Regions from separate parts of the Homo sapiens genome. Here region 1 is linked to region 2. The links are contacts of gene promoters, found by promoter capture Hi-C in blood cells and fetal thymus (Javierre and others, 2016). All regions are on one chromosome and are shown on one strand. The core of a region is centred on a gene start or on the middle of the fragment in contact, and the rest is flanking DNA. Distances in the headings are between cores, read along the strand shown.

What was found. The method cuts DNA at HindIII sites, captures the fragments that hold promoters and counts their contacts. A CHiCAGO score of 5 or more calls a contact.
Region 1: a fragment that was not itself captured here is called in contact with the fragment with the promoter of SH3RF3 in region 2 in 4 of 17 cell types (erythroblasts, naive B cells, total B cells and 1 more); the score reaches 7.6 in erythroblasts.

The regions. Positions count from the first base shown.
Region 1 is chr2:108,287,510-108,291,368 of GRCh38, reverse strand. It overlaps SULT1C2 (sulfotransferase family 1C member 2), which reads right to left and starts at 2,474. Exons shown (of 8, transcript NM_001056.4): 1 at 2,299-2,474. The HindIII fragment of the contact is 242 bases long and covers 2,489-2,730 here.
Region 2 is chr2:109,127,666-109,131,662 of GRCh38, reverse strand. It overlaps SH3RF3 (SH3 domain containing ring finger 3), which reads right to left and starts at 2,458. Exons shown (of 10, transcript NM_001099289.3): 1 at 1,550-2,458. The coding sequence starts at 2,122. It overlaps SH3RF3-AS1 (SH3RF3 antisense RNA 1), which reads left to right and starts at 1,544. Exons shown (of 1, transcript NR_029193.1): 1 at 1,544-3,997. It also overlaps a transcript of RANBP2 not described here. RefSeq lists silencers at 2,443-2,642, 2,673-2,722, 2,733-2,802, 3,183-3,242. The HindIII fragment of the contact is 8,501 bases long and covers 796-3,997 here.

The DNA.
Region 1 (3,859 bases), core at 1,360-3,859, 840 kb after region 2:
AGCATGTCCTGTATTATCCCGGTGGGTCTAATGTGACCACAAGGGCACTTAAAAGTGGACAAGGGTGTAGAAGAGCAGTCAGAGAGTCGTGTGGCAGAAGAAGTGGCTGGAGAGTTTGGAAGCATGAGAATGACTCAACTTGCCATTGATGGCTTAGAGACAAAGGGGAACACAAGACAAGGCATGACCTCCAGAAGCTGAGAATGAACCTCAGCCAACAAGCAAATGGGACCTCCATCCTACAGCCACATGAATCTGAATTCTGCCAACAACCAGAATGAGCTTGGAAGGGATTCTTCTTCAGACCCTCCAGAAGGGAACGCAGCCCTGCCAACACCTTGATTTTACCCAGAGACACCTGTTTGGACTTCTGACTTACAGAGGTGTGAGATAATAAACTTGTATTGTCTTAAGCTGCTAAATTTTTGATAATTTGTTATGGCAGTGATAGTGATAGAAAACTGTTTATACATAGTTATGAACAAAAAGTATACATATATATAAACATAAAACTACAAAACACTTTTTGGATACTGCTGTGGTTTGGATGTGGTTAGTCCCCACCAAAACTCTCTGTTGAAGTTTAACTGCCAGTGTGGCAGTGCTAGGACACGGGGTCTTGTGAGAGGTGTTTGGGCCATAAGGGTGGATTCCACATGAGTAGATTAATGCCATCTCCCAGAAGTGGGTGAGTTTGGTCCCTTTATACATGCCTGCTTGCCTTTCTATTTCTTCACCATGTCTTGATGCAGCATGGCCCTCACGAGAAGCTGAGCAGATGCCAGCACCATGCTCTTGGACTTTTCAGCCACCAGAATCATGATTCAAAATAAACCTCTTATATTTATAAATTACCCAGCCTCAGGTATTTTGTTATAGCAACATAAAATGGACTAAGACGGACATTATCGTGGTTTGAATTGTGTCTCTCTAAGTTCATATGTTGAAGTCCTAATTCATAGTATATTAGCATGTGGCTGTATTTGGAGATAATGTCTTTAAATAGGTGATTAAGTTAAAATGAGGCTGCTAGGATGAGACCTATTCCAATCTGGTATCCTTGTAATGAGAGGAGATTAGGACACACAAGGCAACACCAGGGATGTGTGCACATGGAGGAAAGACCATGTAAGGACACAGTGAGAAGGTCCTCCATAGGGTGGGGGTGAGGGGATGGTGAGTCCAATTCTGGGGTTGAGTCTGATGTATTTATGGGACTTCCCAATGTACACCTGTAGGCAGGTGTACATGTGAGCTTAGGGCTCTGGCCTTGAACTAATGCCCTGAGAATAATCCACGCAACACATTGACCAACTCTGTGGTAGGCGTTGTGCTCTGGGCAGGTAGCTGATGACCGAGGGCCTGGGCACAGCTGTGAACATGTGTGGAAGGGCACCTGCTGCTGCTGAGGACCAGGGCGGTTAAGGGCTTGGCTGTCCAGTGAACTATGGATCCCACTGTATTGCTCTTGTTGGAGGCCTGCACGGGGAGTGATAGAACCTGGCTAAAGCTGGGAGAAGGAGATGCAGCAAGAGATTGAGGCAGCTGGGTAGTGCAGTGGGAGCAGAGGGATCTGCCAGTTCCCACAGGAGAAGTCCCAAGTCCTTCTCACCCTCCCCAGGCCCCTCATTGCTGGGCCACATCAGCACATGGTTCCTGCCCTTGGAGAGTCAGGCATGTAGACACATACATTTCCCCTTGAGCAGCCAGCAGGGACATTTTCATCATATCAGGCCAGATCACTATGGCCTCCTTTGTGGAGGCATCCCTGACTCTGTAAACAGAAGTAATCACTCCTTTCCATGGGATCCTATAGTATTTTGTGTGCAAATTTTATAGGTCTTACTCCACGTCCTACAATTACTTGCTTATAAGTCTGGACCCTTGGAGCACAGGATCTGGTTCAGTCCCCTTGCAGGCCCAGCATGTGTCTTAGTCAATGGCTGGCATAAGAGGAGGGCTGTCATGGAAGAAGAAATAGTCTTGGCCAGAGAAGTTGAGCTGGCCCTGGAGGAGGATGGGACAGGGAGGGTATTTGGGAAAAGATCAGGGTGGGAGACAGAGATAGTATTACAGGAGAGAGAGCTTTTGGAGGTGATTTGAGGGGGGTCCTGAATTTCTAGGTCTGAATTTTTAGGCTGGAGGCTGTTAACAAAACTCTTTTATATTATTTTATCAGATTCTTAGGATCTTTTCTGGTTTGAATAAATGCATCTGTAAAGCCACACCTATGTGGCTAAAGGTTAAAAAATAAATTAACGAGTTAGGTACAGAATTTCTTTTAAGCCATATTCTTACCTTCAAGTTCCAGCTGAAAGTCAGCAGCTCAAAGGCCCACTCAAGGGTCAGTGGGCACGGAAAGGACTTTCACAGGAAGCAGACGGCAATTGCAGAGGCTCAAATTACTACTGTGTCAGAGTTACGGGGGCGCTCAGCAGGTAGCCAGCACTTTGGGAGGCTCTCAGCTTCAGTGTGGGAAGTTGAAGCTTTTACTGGAAGAATCCGGATTGAACAGAAACAAACCCTGTGACCTGGCCCTGGGAGGGAGAACTTCTCACTGTACCATGATCACTCATGTGACCCTGACTGCTGTGCAAATACCAACTCCCTCTAGTTCATATGAACTAAGGGCACACTCTACTCCTCCTCTCGGTCACCAGCTAGAGTTTTTCACATCTTTCCTGGCCCTCAGCTGCCTGGCCCCTCCCTCCTCCCACTGGCCTCGAAGCTTAAACAGGTGGGGGCTGGGGGGAAATGGAAGGTTGGCTCTAGGACCAGATGCATCAGGCTTCAGGTAGGCTCCTGCTTATTTGGTGAACTCCCTTTTCCTTCCTCCTTAGCCTGAGATTTAATTTCTGCATCTATGAAGTGTGGGTAATACTGCCTGTCTCCAATCCATGCTTTAAGATTGAAAGCAACAATGTTGATGAATACACTTTGCAGAGCAAATAGTAAGTGCTTAAAACTGCTGGTTCTTCTTTCCTTTCTTCCCAAGTTGTATTCATCCACACCGAAAATGCAGAGAGGATAGAACAAAAGTCTAGAGCTTAGGTGTGTACTTATTTTTTCTTTGCCTTATTGTACAAAAGGTACACTTTAGTGGAGGCAGATTATATTCCATGGTGTCTTTGGTTACCTGGGAAATTAAATGGATCAAGTGTTAATGATCTCTGAACTGCTACTCTTCTGCCAGCCCCAACCTTGTATCTACCCCAGTGCTTTCCTTTCTGGAATTGAAGCATAATTCTGCACCCCATCTGCCCTTCTTGCCAAAGCTTTCCTTGTCTTCTTTGACCCTGAACCTCCTAATGCTTCTTTGCCGACACTTCTTCTTCCTCCTTGTTTCCAAAGGGCTCTTTTTTTCCCAATAAATTGAACTTTCTTTTTCTTTCTTTTTTCTTTTTTTTTTTTTTTTTGAGATGGTGTTTCACTCCTGTTGCCCAGGCTGGAGTGCAATGGTGCAATCTTGGCTCACTGCAACCTCCGCCTCCCGGGTTCAAGCGATTCTCCTGTCTCAGCCTCCTGAGTAGCTGGGACTACAGGCGTGCGCCACCATGCCCAGCTAATTTTTTTTTGGTATTTTTAGTAGAGACGGGGTCTCACCATGTTGGCCAGGCTAGTCTCCAACTCCTGCTCCCAGGTGATCTGCCCGCCTTGACCTCCCAAAGTGCTGGGATTACAGGCATAAGCCACTGCGCCCGGCTGAACTTTATTTTTCTACTTCTGCTCTCTTTCCAGTTCCACTTATCCCAGTGCTGTCAATTTTCAGCCCCATAGGGCTGATTCACAGTTCTTAGTGCAACCTCACATTTTCTCTGCAGTTAAAGTCCCTAAGTCTACTAAAGTGTCTGCCAGTATC
Region 2 (3,997 bases), core at 1,209-3,708:
TTCCCGGAGTGGCATCAAAGCTTCAGCCTGTCACATGTCAGAGGTTACCTCCTAACCTCCTGGTCAAACACAAAGTCCCCCAAGATAAACTGAGAGGACATCTGTAAACAGATGGTCATCAGAATGTCCCAGCGTTTTACTAGAAGCGGGGCTCCGAATATCACATAATTTATCAGAACAGAAGAAGGTAACCCACTTATTCTGCAAATAAAGATATTTAATTATAAATACCTTACATCAAAAACAGCAAGGCCAGGAAGGAAAAGTTTGAAAATTTCTAACGCAAGCATTTAGCTGGATTTAATCACAATTAAAACCAAAGAAAAAAATTCCCCTTCAGCAGTGCCCCCCAAGTGACCCCCAGTGACTATCCTTGACTGTCCCCATTCTTCCTGATCCATAGAAAAAAAAACCCATTGCAGCAAAGTATGGCATTTAACTCAAGCTCAACATCCAAGGGTTTAAGTTCCTAACCTTAACCTTAGAGATTTGCAGTACTGCCTAATCCAGGTGCTAGAATGTTCCCAGCATTTCAGGATTACACATAGTGGAAGGACTAGGCATCACCAACTCCTTAAATGGTCAAAAGTAGAGGAATAAAGTTGTGTTTCTAAAGCAAATGATTATTCCAATAGATAATGTATTTTTTTTAACATTTAAGTGCTTTTCTCCATTTAAAGAAATTAACAAAACCCGGGTCCTTTCTTTTCTCATTTAAACCAGCATCCCATGCCCTCTCTCCTGGTAACTGTTCACAAGGTGGCAAGGGTGTGTAATAAGAAGCTGTAAGAAGCTTTTAAAACCAAATCATTGAAGCCATCCAGAGAAGATCTTTCGTCTAAAACAGAAGCAGCGAAGGCCCTAAAATGCGGCTGTACCAAAAATAATAATAATAAATATAAATGACCCCCGTGGGAATGCAACCCTGCCTGGGAGCCCAGGAGAAGACCTTGGCTTCTGGTTAGACACTGCCAAGTCCAAAAGGGCTGGGTCAAAAGGCTCCTGGGGCCTCCAGATTAACTCCTTCCAGACTACTAGAAGCATTCCTCCAAACCCCAGTCCCACTCTGCCTTCTGCCCTCCCCTCCTTAGCCACACCGCAGGCAGGAGGCCCGCGGGCTTCCCAGAGCAGCCATCAGAGCCCTGTCAGAAACGTTAAGGGCTAACTTTTCTCTAGGCAGGCCCAGGGTGTGCAGAGGGAGTGTCTGGGGACCCAGAGGAAGAAGGTCCCCGTTTCTAGGGAGACGCAAGGGCGATGCTAAGTTTAAGAGGCAGGGTAACAAGTCCGGCCAAGGAATCGGGGGTGAGCGACGGGACAGGAAGGCGTGCCCACTCCACAGGAGGATGGGACACACGTGAACAAGCGGCGAGCTGCCCAGGGGCCGGATGCCGCCACCAAGCAAGCGAAGTTGGAGGAAGAGCAACAGCGGAGTGGGCCAACGCAGGACCACCCGTGGTCTCCTCCGCACCTCATCACTGCCCCCCACGCCCAAGCACCCACCCACACACTCCCACGTGCCGTGGCCACTTCCGCCGAGACAGATACTCACCTTTGCCGCCGGCGCGGTCCTGCTGGTCGCCAGCTCCCGCAGACTGCCGGCGGTGCTGCCCGCGGCCGCGGAGAGGAAAACCGGGGAACCCGGGGTGCTGCCTGCCGCGCCGCCCCCGCCGCCCGCGAGCGTGGGGGCCGCACTCTGGCCTGGGATGGGACGCGCGGGCGGGCTGCCGCCGGGGCTGGTGCCCGCGCGGGGCCGCTGACGGATGCCGTCCAGCAGTCGCACCAGCAAGATGTTGGCGGGCAGTTCGTCCACGCCGCAGCCCACCAGGATGCGGCACTCGGGGCAGCGCAGCTCGTGGCGCGAGCACACGATGCTCTCCAGGCAGCGGCGGCAGAAAGTGTGTTGGCATGGCAGCACCTTGGCCGTGGTGTCCAGGCGCTCCAGACACACGGAGCACTCCAGCAGGTCCAGCAGCGACGACTCGTCCATGTCCTCGCCCGCCCCCGCGGCGGTGGCCGCCGCCCGACGCCGCCGTCGCTCGCCTGGCCTGTCCTCGTCGCCCTCGCTCTGCGCAGCAGCGGCGGCCGCCTTGGATGCGCACAGCCAGGACGCTCCGAGCAGCATGGGGGAGGCGCCCGCAGCGGTCTCGCGCGGCTGCCTAGGTCCCGGGGCCGGCGTGGAGCCCGCCACCGGCAGCCAGCATCAGGACTGGGGAGCCGGGCTCCGCCGTGACTTTCTTCACCCCGGCTGGTGGCCCGATGCTAGGGCTGTGGCGGTGCGAAGTGGCTCACCGACCGGCCTGCGTGGCGGGGACCGGCCTGCGTGGCGGGGACCGGCCAGCCGAGCCCGCCCAGTCCTGAGCGCAGCGCCTGCGGCTGCGGGCTACACCTGTCCCGCCGCAAGTCCGCCCCGCGCGGGGGACCGGGGGTGCTGCCGGGCACGAAGCTCAACGGGTTCTGTGCTGCAAGCGGCGGCTCGCGCCTGGGAGACCAGCGGCAGGAAGTGCGGGCAGCGGCCGGCCAGGTCCCCGGGGAGGCCGGGGCGCGGCGTGCACGCTCCTCCGCGCAGCTGGCGAGCCGCACCGCCCCCGCGGCACCTCCATGCGCCCCTGGCCTGCTCGCTAGTCGCTGTCCTCCAGAGGATTCAGCAGGACCGTTCCTCTTCCTCGGCCGCGAGCACGTGCGCGGGGGTGCGCGCGGAGGTCACGGTCACTGCGGGGCTCAGGGAAGGAGGCGCCGTGCCTGCAGGACTTCCCTTCGCTTGGGCGCAAGCCGGCGATTAGCCTGGTCCCCTAGGACATCTCCAGGGCTCCGGGGAACCTCTCCTGCGCAGGCTTGGCCCTGCCTCCTCCAAGCGTCCGAGTCTTTTTCGGCTTTTCGTGAGCCTCAGAGAGGGACGTTTCCTGCCAACGCTGCTGCGAAGGAAAGTTTGGGCGGCGTTATCCCGACTGCCTTCCTCGCCAGCGCCGGCGAGCAGCTTGGGGACACAGCCGACGCCCGGGCATCCTCCCCGACGACCCCCCGGAGCGCTCCCAGTTCAGACTCCTTTCCGAGAAGCGCGCAGAAGTGACAGCCCCGGAGCTTCGTTCCGGTGTAGGTGTGGGGATGCGCCGCAAGGCAGGAGGGGAAGGCGCTCCAGTTGAAGGGGGCACCCCGGGGCCCGCGCCGACTCCTCCCGGCGCAGCCTTGGCTCGCCGGAGTCGCGGGTCGGAGGCTGGCGCCGCTGCCCGCCGACCAGCACCCTGGCGCCAGGCGCCCGGCTCCACGCCGCACCCTTGGCGACGCTGTGCGAGGGGCTCTAGCGCCCGCCGCGGCGCAGTCTCGTGAACCCCCGCTCCAATTTTTTCCTACGGAGGCGCAGAGGAGGGTGAATTCGCGCTCTCCTTCCCGACGCCCCGGCTTCTGGGAGCGTCAGAGCAACGGAAGTACGTACAGGAGGACCGAGAGCAGCAGGGAAGTTTGGCGGTGGGCTGGGGTCGGCGGCGAAGATTCCCTGCCGTGCGCTGCCCCCTCGTGGCCGCTTTGCGTTCCCGTCGGGAAGGGCTGGGTTCCAGTCCAGGGCCCAGCACAAACCAGGATTGGTTGGACGCTGCACAGCGAGTTCAGTCAGGGCTAACATCAGAAGAGTCGTGGGGGGCCTGCCTATCGGCCAGCCTGTCCTTGTGGTTTGTGAAGTTGTATGATCTTTCTGTTATTATTAAGGAAAAAAGTAGTATTTGTTGAGGCTAAAAGGCCAAGAGCGTGCTATATATTATTTAATCCTCTAAACAGCTCTGCCAGATAATTATTTTATTTATTTATATTTACTTCCATAGCTTTAGACAGGATCTCGTTCTGTCAGGCAGGCTAGAGCGCGGGGTGCTATCACGGCTCACTGCAGCCTCAAACTCTTGGGCTCAAGCCATCCTTTCACCTCAGCCTCCTGAATAGTTGAAACTACAGGTGCGCCACCACGCCTGGCTAAATTTTTAATTTAAATTTTTTGTAGCGACAGGGTCTC